2 separate regions of the Homo sapiens genome follow, and region 2 is linked to region 1. The links are contacts of gene promoters, found by promoter capture Hi-C in blood cells and fetal thymus (Javierre and others, 2016). All regions are on one chromosome and are shown on one strand. The core of a region is centred on a gene start or on the middle of the fragment in contact, and the rest is flanking DNA. Distances in the headings are between cores, read along the strand shown. Region 1 holds the start of NUP153 (nucleoporin 153). Region 2 holds the start of LYRM4 (LYR motif containing 4).

Region 1 (6,831 bases), core at 2,548-5,047:
GCAAAGGTTGCAGTGAGCCAAGATCGAGCCACTGCACTCCAGCCTGGGCCACAGAACGAGACTCCATCTCAAAAAAAAAAAAAAAAATTAAAAAAAAAATAAGTTAAAGAAGGAAAGTAGTAAACTTACAGCATTTCCCAGGAGAGCTAAACCCAGAAGTCAAAACAGGAAATTACAAGTCAAATGAACACATGCAGAAGTCATAGGTACTGGGTGACTGTACTAGCCAAGTTGCCCTGACAGGCACTGGCAAACATCCATTAACTAACAGCGCCAGACCTCTCATTGTTTCTTACTCCAACTTTCTGCTATACTACCAAAAGCTTAATTTTTGCCCAGAAACCCTTGGACACTTAATCAAATAACATTAGTATAAAACATGCCATGTCATGAAGCTTGCTTCATGATGACTCAGCAGCTTCTGCAAAACATCCAGTTGACAGCCTAGGATAATAAACAGCAAGTGGGTAGACCCTATGTCCACCAAAGCCTCAATAAGGACTAAAGAAAGTCCTTATTTTTAAGATTAAAAAAAAAAAAAAGGAGAGTATTCTTTTGAATATACCTGAATACTTTCCTTGGGTAGTGGTAGTTTCTGCCAATATTAAATAGCACCTACAGTGTTGATCAAGAAACCCCTAAATACCTTTACTTCCCAATTCAAAAGCTAAAATATGTTTTCTTTTTTAATTAAATAGGACAAGAAGCAAAAGTATTTTAGATAAGGGGCAATGATAAATTATCAAGATTTAAAACAAAACTACACAGCCTGAAGTCGTATCAACTCTAAGACACCTTGGATCATAGGTGTTATGCTGTTAAGACATCATCTCCCCAAAATTAGATTTTTATTTTATCTAAGTACATTTAAGCTGTGATCAGGGGCCGGGCGCGGTGGCTCACGCCTGTAATCCCAGCACTTCGGGAGGCCGAAGCGGGGAGATCACGAGGTCAGGAGATCGAGATCGTCCTGGCTAACATGGTGAAACCCCGTCTCTACTAAAAATACAAAAAATTAGCTGGGCGTGGTGGCGGGCGCCTGTAGTTCCAGCTACTCTGGAGGCTGAGGCAGGAGAATGGCATTAACCCGGGAGGCGGAGCTTGCAGTGAGCCAAGATCGCGCCACTGCACTCCAGCCTGGGTGACAGAGCGAGACTCCGTCTCAAAAAAAAAAAAAAAAGCTGTGATAACTTCAGACATCTGGAAAATATTAATTCCCTTCTAACCTCTATTCAGACCATCCAATGACCTATATTTAAAACAAGTCATTTTTCTACATGTCATACAAGAAAATCTAAGCACTCAAAGGCATTCATAGGAGAAAAGAAAGCATGCATGTGTAACTTCCATTCTACAGACGGATTAGGTTAAATGGCCAGGCTTGTGACCTGAATTCTAATCTTAAATCTGCTCGCAAATACCCCTTTTCTTCACAAATTTGAAAACTAAGCACTTTATGTACATATCTGGGGGAAAACTGGTGGGAGTAGTAACAGTGCCAAACCTAACCATCAGTAGAGAACGACTGAAAATACCTGAACCACAATTTTTACTACTCAAACATTTCCCTCAAAATAAAAAACATTTAAGAAAACTAGAAGACAAAAAAAAAAAAATTCCTCAAATCTTTACTTTTTTTTTTTTTCTTCGAGACAAGAGTCTCGCTCTGTCGCCCAGGCTGGAGTGCAGGGGCAAGATCTCTGCTCACGGCAAGCTCCGCCTCCCGGGTTCAAGCCATTCTCCTGCCTCAGCCTCCCAAGTAGCTGGGACTACAGGCGCCTGCCACCACGCCCGGCTAATTTTTTGTATTTGTTAGTAGGGACGGGGTTTCACCGTCTCTGGATGGTCTGGATCTCCTGACCTCGGTGATCCACCCGCCTCGGCCTCCCAAAGTGCTGGGATTACAGGCGTGAGCCAACGCGCCCGACCCAAATCTTTACTTTTAAAAATCTGTTGATAATGACACAATTTAACAACATCAACCATGTGAAAGTGTGTAATCTTTATTAGCATCCAGAATAAAGTAATCTAGGAAGTCTACCTTTAACAGTAGGCAACAAGTTATCAGATCCTTTTGCTACACTTTTGTTTTTCAACAAATTTAAGACACACACTTCCCACCTCAGTATCACTGATAAGTGGCTTTATTAAAATAAGTTAACATTTTCCTATTCAATACTTCTAACAATCAATATTTTAAAAATGGAATTTTCTCAGAATCAACTATCTCATTTACAATTAGGATAATCCTTTTTTATAATTTTAAACATCCAGGAGTTCATACAGTGGCTAAACTATAAGACCACCAACATTCCTGGAGTGTCAAAAGTAACTATACTTCTAGAATACGCCTCATAATATTAAAATATTTTGTGTATGAGATCAGAGCTGGAGTCCCGGTCAACTGTGGAGAATGGCCAATTCCAGCCTCCAAAATAAAGGCGGGGGTGGCGGTGTTGGGGGGGGGGAGGGGAGTCGCGCAGCAGAGAAAAGACGTAAGGGTGGAGAGGGACTTTCAAAATGCCCCAGTGCCACGGTTAACTATAACCTGGTTAATAAAATCTAAGCCAATGCTCTCAAGACGAGGAGGGCCACAGGCAGGGGAAACCGAGAATTAACTCATAGGCTGAGACTAAGTTATTCCACTTTCCATGTAACAGCGCCCCCCACAACTCCCCGTCTGCCCCAGAGTTAAGATTCCAAGGGGCAGCCCCCCCTCCTCAAACACACTAAAGAAGGGACACCAGAAAACAGCAAGTATAAGGGCCATCAACCACATCTTTTCCTTTCTCCCTCGAGAGAACATGAGTAATACCCTCAAATTCCAAATCCCCGCCAAAAAATAAAGAAACGCGCGCATCATGGGCCTACAATTTCTTTTCCCGCCCAGAGCCTGCCTGGGAAAGCCCCTGACCCAGAGAGTTGGGGGAAAGGCGGCCCAAACCACACGTGTGCGCCGCAAGGCTGGGCCTGTCTCAGCCCACTTCCCGTCGCCACCCCCAACGGCCTGAGCTCCCCCGGAGCCTCACTCGGGCCTTTCCTCAGGCCCTCCTGTCTGCTCCACGTGGGGCGCCGGGGCCTCGAACCGCCCGTCCCCTCCAGCCGAGTTTCCCCACCCGCCAGGCCACCGCGGCGTCGGGGTCCCATACCTGATGCTGTTGTCGCCCCTGCTGGTAAGGCTTAATTGGCCCCTGGTGGCAACGCCGCGTCCGGATCTTGCCGCCACCGCCCCCTCCGACTCCTCCGGCTCCCGAGGCCATGGCGGAGCCTCCGCCGCTTCCCGCTCCGGGGCGGGTAAGGGGGCGGGAGAGGCAGAGGCGGAGGCCTTAGAGAGCCTCCCCCGCCGCCCGGCCCCGGCCCAAAAGTCCGCCCGCGCTGTCCACACAGTGGGCACAAGCACCCCAGGAACCGCGAGGTTGCGAGCAGGAGCGGAGAGAGGGTGAGTGCTGGCAGCGGGGAAGGGGGTGGCGGCCGCAGAGGCCGAGGAGGCTCCGGTCCGGCCGCCTCTGCGGACCCCCGCCTCTGTGTGTGTCACGGTCTCTATGGAGATCTCCCGCAGAGGACAGCACGAACAGTTCCCCGCGGTGCTGAGGCCTAACTCGACCGCCGACTGGTGGGAGTTCTTCCGTCGCCCTAGCCGTAGCTGCCGCAGTTGAAGCCGCTGGCGACGCCCGCCTACCCCTCCCCTGTGCGCACAGCGCCCGCCCCGCCGCCGTCGTCGTCGTCGTCCCTGCAGCCTCCGCCGCCGTTGCGCCTATTACCCCTGCTAAGGCGGCTGCCGCGGTCGCGAGCCAGAATGTCGTCACTCATCGGCGCCCGACGCATTTGCATCATCATGCTGCGACGAGCTGATAGGCAAAGAGGAAGGGCTGGTCGAGTCCACGCTCTCGGCCGCGCGGCACGCTGGGAAACGTAGTTCAACAACGGAACGCGGCTTCTCGGAAAGGAAGAGGGACGGGGAAGGAGATCTCCGGGGCGCCGCAGAGGCACAAAGCCAAGGGGTACTTTTGCTGTTCTTGGCTGTAAATTAGACTTTGAAAAGACACTTAACATAAAAACAGTAACCTCTTCCCATTCTCCTTCTCCCTGTCGGTTGGTTAAGTAGGCAGGAAGTAAGCAGACAGTAAAATCAAAGACAAGAGCTAATGATTTAAGAAGGAGGAAAAAAAAATCTGTGGTTGAAAAATAAAGTCCATGATCCTTAGAATTAGAAAATATATACGGCTTCATTAATGTTTCTTTAAACATATAAAGGTTTTGTTGCAGACACACGGGGCTGGAATTCTGGTTCTGCCACCCAACCTATTTGACCTTGGATGAATCAAAACCGTCTGAGCCTTAGCTTCCTCCTCCATAAAATGGGAGCTTTAAAATCCACCTTATAAAGCTGTTGTGAGGAGCAGACGTGATCATCTATGGAGAGCATGTATATTTGCTAATAGACGAAAAATGCGATGAATGATTACAATTATAACCCATGCAGTCAGCTAACATTAGGGGTAAGTGATATATCCTTAACAATAAAAGTATACTATATTTGCTCCAAATATTTAGGAAACTGAGTAAGTGAGCTAGACTCAAAGACTGAATCCACAAAATGTATATTCTAGGAGTTGACGATTAGAAAGGTCCTGGTGATCACATAGTCCAACCCTCTCATTCAACCAACCAGACAAGATGTCCAGAGAAATTTAGGTGGCACAATCAATGACACTGAGATGGGTAATCAAAGCCAGGACTATAACCCAACTTTTCTGTAAGAGCTAAAGACAAATAGCCAAATGATTAGGGAGGAAAAATATGTTGTGAAAAATCTTAGACTTACTATAAATCTTTTTTTTTCTTTCTTTCTTTCTTTCTTTTTTTCTGAGAGACAGAGTCTTGCCCTGTCGCCCAGGCTGGAGTGCAGTGGCGCGATCTTGGCTCACTGCACCCTTTGCCTCCCAGGTTCAAGCTATTCTCCTGCCTCGGCTTCCTAAGTAGCTGGGACTACAGGCGTGCACCACCACGCCCAGCTGATTTGTGTATTTTTAGTAGAGATGGGGTTTCGCCATGTTGGCCAGGCTGGCCTTGAACTCCTGACCTCAAGTGATCCACCCGCCTTGGCCTCCCAAAGTGCTGGGATTACCCGTGTGAGCCGCCACGCCCAGCCTATTTACTATAAATCTCCCACTTACTAGCTGTGTAGCCTTGGGGAAGTTACTGATCCTGTTTCTTTCTTTTTTTTTTTTTTTTGAGACGAAGTTTTTTCCTCTTGTTTTGCCCAGGCTGGAGTGCAATGGCGCAATCTCAGCAACCTCCACCTCCTGGGTTCAAGCGATTCTCCTGCCTCAGCCTCCCGAGTAGCTGGGATTACAGGCATGTGCCACGACGGCCGGCTAATTTTGTATTTTTACTAGAGATGGGGTTTCTCCATGTTGGTCAGGCTGGTCTCGAACTCTCAATCTCAGGTGATCTGCCCACGGCCTCCCAAAGTGCTGGGATTACAGGCGTGAGCCACCGCGCCCAGCCCACTGATCCTGTTTCTAAGCTTCGTTTTTTTCATCAGCAAATAGAGCGAATATTGACCTCACAGGGTAGTGGTCTGGTGAAAGGATTAATGTATATCTAGTTCATAGTAACTGCTTAGATAGAAAGCATCCAATATCAACCATCAATCAGATATAAATAATTAGTTCCAAGACATTTATACTATCTCCACAATCAAACTGCACAATTCAGGTTCATTGTTTAAATCATACAAGTGAAATTGTAAAGCCAGTCTTCTAGTACCTTTGAACTTGTACCTTTCAGCGCCTAAAGAAACTATGCTATACCAAGCATAGGTGTACACATCAATGGCTTTCAGTGGCACCTCTGACCATAACCATCAAGATCAAGACAAGTTGCCAAATATGATAAACAAAATTAATCTATTTTCCGCTGTCTCATCCTAGCTTCATGCCTCCTCCCACCACTAACTTCCCACTAAATTCTCCAGGTATGCCCCCTCTTCCTCCTGAAGCACTTCATCTTTCTTAAAGACAGTTGTTTCCCTCAGGTGCTATCTTCCTCCTATGCAGAAATCCTATTCTTCCACAAATCCATAGCTAGATATTTGACAGCCAAGTAAAGTAATTCACGATAAGCTAACTCATAGGGAAGATCTGTACCTGAATCTTTAATTGGGTTATACGTAGAGGAGATTAAACCATAGCCACATCCCATCTGCCCTCTTCACTCTATGAGACCCAGAGTTTCCACCACAGAACAGAGGACTGACTGGAATCAAAGCTCACCCCTTTCTTGGAGGCTATTCTTTGATGTGCTGGACACCCTTCACAGCCAACCTTTGAAAGGAAGAGAGACGCGAAAGAATTGGGCCAAATGTAGACAATGCTTCAGAAATAGAAGATTGGTAGAACTTGAGGAGATATGGGAAAATCCACATTCCTTTTACCCATGCTCTCAACTTTTTACCCATTTCCACAATTATTTTATTTCTTGGAAGTAAAATAGTATTTGAGGGAACTATAATGCATTAATCTCACATTCATGTGATTGAGTCATTGGAAGCCGTGCCAGGCTTGAGAGCAGAGAAGGAATAAAGAGACAGGAGGAAATCTGCATTCAACCTGGACCTAGTTTTTTCAGCCAAATAAATGGCATATTGGGAGACACTGCAATTCATGAAAAGCTTGTTGCTACAATAGTCCTCCTCTGCCAAGAAACTTCTTTATTTTGTTCCCCATATAATATAGTAGAAAGTGGCCGAGCACAGTGGCTCACACCTGTAATCCCAGCACTCTGGGAGGCCAAGGCGGGTGGATCACTGGAGGTCAGGAGTTCGAG
Region 2 (6,831 bases), core at 1,914-4,413, about 12 Mb before region 1:
TGGAAAAACTGTCTTCCATGAAATTGGTTCCTGGTGCCAAGAAGGTTGGGGATAGCTGTGATATAGCACTGGGCAAAGCATGCTTCAGAGATGTTTTGTAGAAGCACTGAGGTAAAAGAATGACACACAGCAATGAGACCTGTTTGGCTGGTGGGAGGGATGGGAGTGGAAGCTGTGGGATGAAGAGAGTTGGGAAAACTTTTGTTCAGAGAAGGTGACAATTGAGCTCAATCTTGAAGGAAGAGGGGGCACTCTAGACAGGAGTGATAAAGGGCCTGCTGGATAGAACAGTACTTGTAAAGGCCTGGAGGCCCAACAGGACGTGGCACATTTAGGAAACTGCAACTGATGATGACAGAGGACAGGATGCACATGTGGGACTTAGGCTGAGACTGGAGGAGCAGACAGGGCTCCTGCTATCAAAACGTGGCCTATATTATAGGTCTTGCAAGAGAGTTCCAAAGTATTTATTTCACTACTCTAATTACTTAAGGCACAATTCGCAGGTCATTAAAAAACGTTTACTAGTCTGCTTTTGATTGCTTATTCAGCACTACCTGTGTTAGTTTTGATAGGTAACTTAAGCTCCCTGTGCCTCAGTTGCCTTACAGGGTAATACAAATAGTACCTACCTCACAAGATTATTGTCAAAACAAATGTGTTAATAGACATGAAGAACATAAGATAGCAGTGGCACACAGAATTGATAGTGGATGTTGTGTTGCTATTGATTTGCCATCAGTGACAAACAGCTGCAGAGATTAGAGAGGAGGGAAGGGACTTTTCCTGAAATTCACAAGACACAGCCTTAATGTAAAAGGACGTATTTTTATAACAAGTAAGTTTATCTAGGGAGGTAATAGCAGGAATGTCGGTTTTTAGGTCTATGATCTCAGGTAACAGTATAAAATGATTATCAGATTCCTTTGGATAATATATTTATATTTGGATAGTAAATTTAGCTTAAAAGTATATGCTTAAGGTATAATTTGATCAATTATTTTCTGAATGCATATGATCTTACAGTTGCCCATACTGAAACCCATTTTCAATTTTCTGCCTTTCAGGTAGAGTCTTGAATGATTTTCCTAAAGTTTGAATGATTTTCCTGTTGAGTTTCGTGAATGATTTTCCTGTTCAGTTGGCAATTACTCATTTGAAAACGCTTGGGCCTCATTTGCTCATAAATCATTTCCAAAGAGAATTTCAGAAATGGAAGGGTCCTTAGAGATTGTCTAGTCCAACAGTCTATTTCATAAACAAGAAAACTGAAATACAGAGATTGAGAGACTTGTCCAAGTTAGTCTTCGAGGGCTCCACCTTGACTTTCTTACATGCTCTCACATAAACCCTCTCCCTGCCACTTTCCTTAGTGTGTGAACTGCCTGCTGATTCCAAGTCCTTGTGTATCCTGAGTAAGCTTTAATGACAAACTATTTTACTCCAGACTATGGTGAAATCAAATGGTTTCTATTTATTTAACTTGCATATTTCATGTGTTTCCTCAACAGACTTGGTTAAGTACTTGGTGCTAGGTGTTTGGTTAATTCTTGCTAAAATTCCACCAGTATGCTTATTATTACACTCTTTATTCTCCAAAGTCAAAGTCATTAAGTAAAATCATTCTCTCCCGTGAAATTTAACCACTTAACTGGGTGGATACAACCTCAGTGGTATGACCCAGATGCTGTTTTCAAATTTGCAGCATGAGTATATTTTCCAGGCGGGTTTCTAAAAATTTGAGAGTCATTGCTTAAGAGGCTTAGCGTTCCTGTCCTCTGACAGAGGTTGTACTGGGCAGACCCATCTCAGGGCCTGCCAGCTCACACACGTGCTGGAGGGGGGCCTACCTAACCAGGTGTGTTCCAAGGGTAGGCTCTGCTCTTATGACATCCAATCCACAGTCTGGCCAGTCACCTAAGTGAGGCTTGAGGTAAAGAGATGAGTTGATCCAACCAGATTCTTTCTCATGGGAATATGGCTCAAACTCAGAGAGAGACAGGTAGTTAGTAAAAACAAAACAAAACAAAAAACAAATCTAAAAAAAAATGCAGAGAGAGAATCCATAAGAAAATGATGGGTCAGAACCAGCAACACTGTGAAAGCAGAGGCTCTGAATTAGAAAAAACATACAAAGAGTAACAATAAAAGACTCATAGGCAAATAGGGGAGTGGGGAGGCGTGAGAAAAAGTGAATGTGTTATATTAAAGATGTGAGTTTAGGCCCTCAATATCCTGCTGTCAAGGTCCAGTAAGCGGGATCTCTGTCTGGTGAGCCAGGAGAAACTGAGGTTTCAGCTCCAAAGCTTGTGAGACCCTTTTTCCTTTTCCGCTACGCATTTCCACCATACCCTAAATAGAATGGATTCTTGCAACCAAAAGAACTCATTACGACACCTAGGAAATTTTAGGGAGGTGCTAGAGTGTGCCTTCAGCTTTGTCGCAGTGTACTACTCACTGGCCACTTCCACTCTCAACTCTTCCAGTGCTCAAGGGAAGTTTTACATATGCAACACACTGGCCTTAACTTCACAAATGACTGATTTCCATCCCTTTTTTCTCTTCTGCAGAAACATAACACTAATCATGCTCCTAGAATAACTACCAAGATAGCCTTTAGGGGGAAAACGTCACAAGACATGAACGTCTCCCCTGGTAGAAAGAAAGGCTCCTCCCCGAGGTCTCAGAGGCCACACCTGTAGGCAGGAGCACGCTTTTCGATGGCGGAGCCCGGTCCTTGCCTCGCAGCCGCCGGCAAACCACGGTGGCTCCCAGTCCCCGGGGATATTCCGCGTCAGCCCGCACCCCCGGTCCCCGGCCCCTGGCCCCCCGCCCCCGGCCCCCGGTGCCCGCTGGGTCACCTGTAATTGTAGGCGCTGAAACGCTTGCTCTCTCTCAGCATCGCCCGGTACAGAGATAACACTTGTGCGCGACTGGAGGCTGCCATTTTGGAAAGAAAAAAAAATAAACGGGTCCTCTTCGCCGAGGTCCCAAGTACGACCCAACCCACGAAACTCCAGCCTGTGCGGAAACCACGAACGAAATAAAATGCTGCGGCTCGGCTTTGCCAGCGGGCCGGGCCTAAGCCTAAGCGGGCAGCCCTGCGGATCGCGGACGGCGCCAGGCGTCCCGCGCCGCTTCGGGGGCGGGCGCAGGCAGGGCTCGGGGCAGCTAAGGGGGCGGTGCTGGGAGGGAGATGCCTCCGCCCCGCCCCGATCCCGCCCCCGCCCGGAGGCTCGGGACCCAGCAGCCGCTCCACGCGGCGGGAGGGCGGGGAAATAAGAGGACTGGCCGCCCGTGCATCCAGCCAAGCTCCTGGCGGACGGATATCGGAGGCCCAGGCATTCGAGGGACGTGCAGTTGCATCACGGAGAGCCTTTGGGAACCGTCTGGGGTCTTGGCGGAGACATTTGTGTTTCGGGGGCAGCGCCCCTTCCTACATCCAGGAGGCCGCGTTGCCCGGGTTACCGAAGGCCGCCGCACCGACGCCCCGCCCCTGACCGCCGATGCCCCTCCCACGCCGGCTGCGGTCGCCCTCGGCGCTGCCTGAGAGAGTTTGCGGGATTTCAAGGGTGACTTGATTTCGCCTGATCCTGGTCGGCAGGGTGGGGTTTCTTGGCATTCCTCAGGCCGGGGGATGCGACGTCTGGGTGTGGAGGTGATGAGCTAGGGGTTCTGTGGCACTCCGGCTCTGCTCAGGGCGACCTGCGTAGGGGCCTCTGGGGCAGGCCCGCTTTCTGTCAAAATGGCAGCGCCCAGCGTGCGCGGGTATCTCTGAAGTTGGGGTTTAAGATTCTTGCCCGTGAGAGCGAACGAGCCTGCCGTACTTCTGATTTTGAAACACCTGGGTCTGGGCTTCCCGGGCGAGCGGTGGGTGAGTGCCGGCCTCATTGCAGCCTGGGGTACGACGTGGGCGGTTGGTGTTGTAGGGGGTTTACATTGGCCGTGGATTTTTTCCTCTTTCCGGATGTGTTTTTGCTTTTGAGTGAAGAGTTCCCGTGGTTTTGTAACCTAATAAATGCATAAAATGCAGCTTGGGTTGTAGACTTTGGAGAATAATTAGAGACCTTTAGGGCTTTAGGCTTTCTCCAAGAAGCGGAGCAAGTTTTCAACCATGGCTTTCTTCAGAAGACTGCAGCTTTTTTGAATCATCTTATTAAAGTGGTGGATAAAGTTGCTTGTTCTGATCTTTGAGCATGGCACTGGACGCAGGAAGCTTCAGCCAGTCCTAGTTACTGTGTTTGCAAAGCACTTTTCTTGTTTTTGGAATCTTGCTTTATGTAATCAACCTTAGGAAGAACCACACCTTTCTGCACTCAAGCACAGCGAGAAGTACGTTATGCGTGAAAACAAAACAACTTTGCATTAAAATCCATCTTTCTCCGAACCACTTGGTCACGGTTGTGTTCTCATCTGCTTTAGTGTATTTGGTTTTGAAACGATATACCTGCTGTATGTCTAAACAACTTTATATTTTCAGGAACTTTTCTGTTTCCTTTTCTTTTTTTTGAGATGGAGTCTCGCTCTGTCGCCCAGGCTGGAGTGCAGTGGCGGGATCTCGGGCTCACTGCAACCTATGCCTCCCAGGTTCAAGCCATTCTCCTGCCTCAGCCTCCTGAGTGGCTGGGATTACAGGCGCGCGCTACCTCGCCCAGCTAATTTTTGTATTTTTAGTAGAGACAGGGTTTCACCATGTTGGTCAGGCTGGTCTCGAACTCCTGACCTCAGGCAATCCGCCCGCCTCGGCCTCCCAAAATGCTGGGATTACAGGTGTGAGTCATCACGCCCAGCCTCTATTTTCAGGAACTTTAAAGGCAGAAAAAACACTTCTCTGACCTTACCATTCTTTAGTGTACTTGCAACCTGGTGTCCTTGCATCCAGATATTCTTACTAATCCTGATGCAATGACATTTTTTAAAAGGCACTGAAGAGAAAATACTTTTATTAAGATATCTTTAAGTCTCCTCCCTGATTTCTTGAAAATCTCATGTCTGTTATTGTTTATTATTATTTTTTAAACAGGATAGCAAAACTTCTATTACTTCCTGGTTGGTCAGGTCATTGAGCAAATCTAGCCTCTGCTTTATTGAAAGGACTTTTTTGAGTTTTCCCTTTGCTATTTCTTAAAGGATCCAAGACCAAGGCAATTGCACATTGTTATAGAGTAAGATTCAGAGCTGATTTCTCTTGATACACTATTGTGTGCCAGTGATATGAAATGATATGCGGCACCTCAAAGCTACAACATTAATGCAAGTTACTGATAGAGAATGCTATCAGAGTGAAAAGGAAAAACTTGAAGATTATTTTGGCTTTTTTAAAAATAGCAAAGATTACATTATTTTATTATATTTTGCTTTTGAGAGTAAAGTTGGAATAATTACTATATACAATTGTTTCTACCTAATTATCAAGGAATTTAATCATTAACGTACATAATTAATGTATCTAAATTACTCAACTTTGTTGTAATCAAATAAAACTTTTCCAAATAAATATGTATAGTTTAAATAGTTTGGGTAGCTTAGTCCTCTGTTAGTACGAGCAATGGTTGCAGTTAGGAAAGTGATAGGCTTCCCAGTTAATTCTGAGCCAAGTCTTCATAAAAATACCTTATTATTTTATTTAAAATGGTTTACCAATGTGTTGGACATCATTGCCTGGAGAGGCTAAAAGAAAATAATCATTCCGTAGCTACATCTCACTTTTGCACATCTTCATTGCGGAGATGACTTAAAAAAAATAACTCGATTTGAGATTGTAAGTAGATTTGGGCCAGAAGCTGAAGAATGGACCTTACACATACGTCCTTTAATAGTCATTCTATTCTGGGTTGAAATTTTTCTTAGAGAGTATCTGTAAAACAGGAGGTACCATTTAGGCATCAAAACGTAAAAATTTCTTTAGTATTCATTTATCAAAAGTTATCGACTACCTGTAGTTCTTTATGGAAGATCATGTGTTACCTTCTATTAAAATTAGGGTTGTTAATGACCACTTAATGCTTTGTGAAGAGAAATTTCTCTAATCATAATAAACAGTGTAACAACAATTTACTGTCCTTAAGCTTAAATATCAAAATGATGTATAAAGTAAAATTTGTATAGTAGTAGTAACTTACGATATTATTTAGAAATTGTTCAGCTGGGCATGGTGGCTCACACCTGTAATCCCAGCACTTTGGGAGGTTGAGGCAGGTGGATTGCTTGAGCCCAGGAGTTTGAGACCAGCCTGGGCAACATGGCAAAACCCCATCTATACAAAAAATACATCATAGCGAAACCTCACCTCTACACAAAAAATACAAAAATTAACTGGGTGTGGTGGCATGTGCCTGTAGTCCCAGCTACTTGGGAGGCTGAGGTGGGAGGATTGCTTGAGCCCTGGAGGTTGAGGCTGCATTGAGCCATGATCACATTACTGCTCTGTAGCCTGGGCAACAGAGTGAGACCCTGTCTACCAAAAAGAAAAAACAACAACAACAACAAAAAGAAATTATTCTATTCTACACCACACATGAATCCAAGTATTATACATTGATCCTTCATTTTAATAGAACACGAAGGGGAAGGGGGAAGACCTTAGATATCAACTCATTCATTTGTACAGATGAACAAACTGAAGACTTTTTCCTCATTCGTTCATTCCTTCAGCATTTATTGAACACTTCCTAAGTACTATAGGTTATGGTTTTTCTTTTCTTTTTTCTTTTTTTTTTTTTTTGAGACAGAGTTTCACTCTTGTTTCTCAGGCTGGAGTGCAATGGTGCAATCTCGTCCGGCTAATTTTTTGTATTTTTAGTAGAGATGGAGTTTCACCATGTTGTCCAG

The links. Contacts are between HindIII fragments. The CHiCAGO score rates a contact against its expected background, and 5 or more counts as called.
Region 2: a contact is called between the fragment with the promoter of LYRM4 here and the fragment with the promoter of NUP153 in region 1, in 1 of 17 cell types (total CD4 T cells). The highest score is 7.3, in total CD4 T cells.

What each region holds. Positions count from the first base shown.
Region 1 is chr6:17,703,128-17,709,958 of GRCh38, forward strand. NUP153 (nucleoporin 153) reads right to left here and starts at 3,798. Exons shown (of 22, transcript NM_005124.4): 1 at 3,150-3,798. The coding sequence starts at 3,260. It overlaps NUP153-AS1 (NUP153 antisense RNA 1), which reads left to right and starts at 3,916. Exons shown (of 3, transcript NR_134618.1): 1 at 3,916-4,001; 2 at 4,267-4,499. RefSeq lists silencers at 943-1,112, 1,629-1,788, 3,120-3,629 and enhancers at 3,216-3,910, 3,720-3,989. The HindIII fragment of the contact is 5,135 bases long and covers 394-5,528 here.
Region 2 is chr6:5,257,787-5,264,617 of GRCh38, forward strand. It overlaps LYRM4 (LYR motif containing 4), which reads right to left and starts at 3,164. Exons shown (of 3, transcript NM_020408.6): 1 at 2,862-3,164. The coding sequence starts at 2,947. FARS2 (phenylalanyl-tRNA synthetase 2, mitochondrial) reads left to right here and starts at 3,727. Exons shown (of 7, transcript NM_006567.5): 1 at 3,727-3,874. RefSeq lists an enhancer at 2,395-2,444 and silencers at 2,655-2,964, 3,025-3,244. The HindIII fragment of the contact is 1,910 bases long and covers 2,305-4,214 here.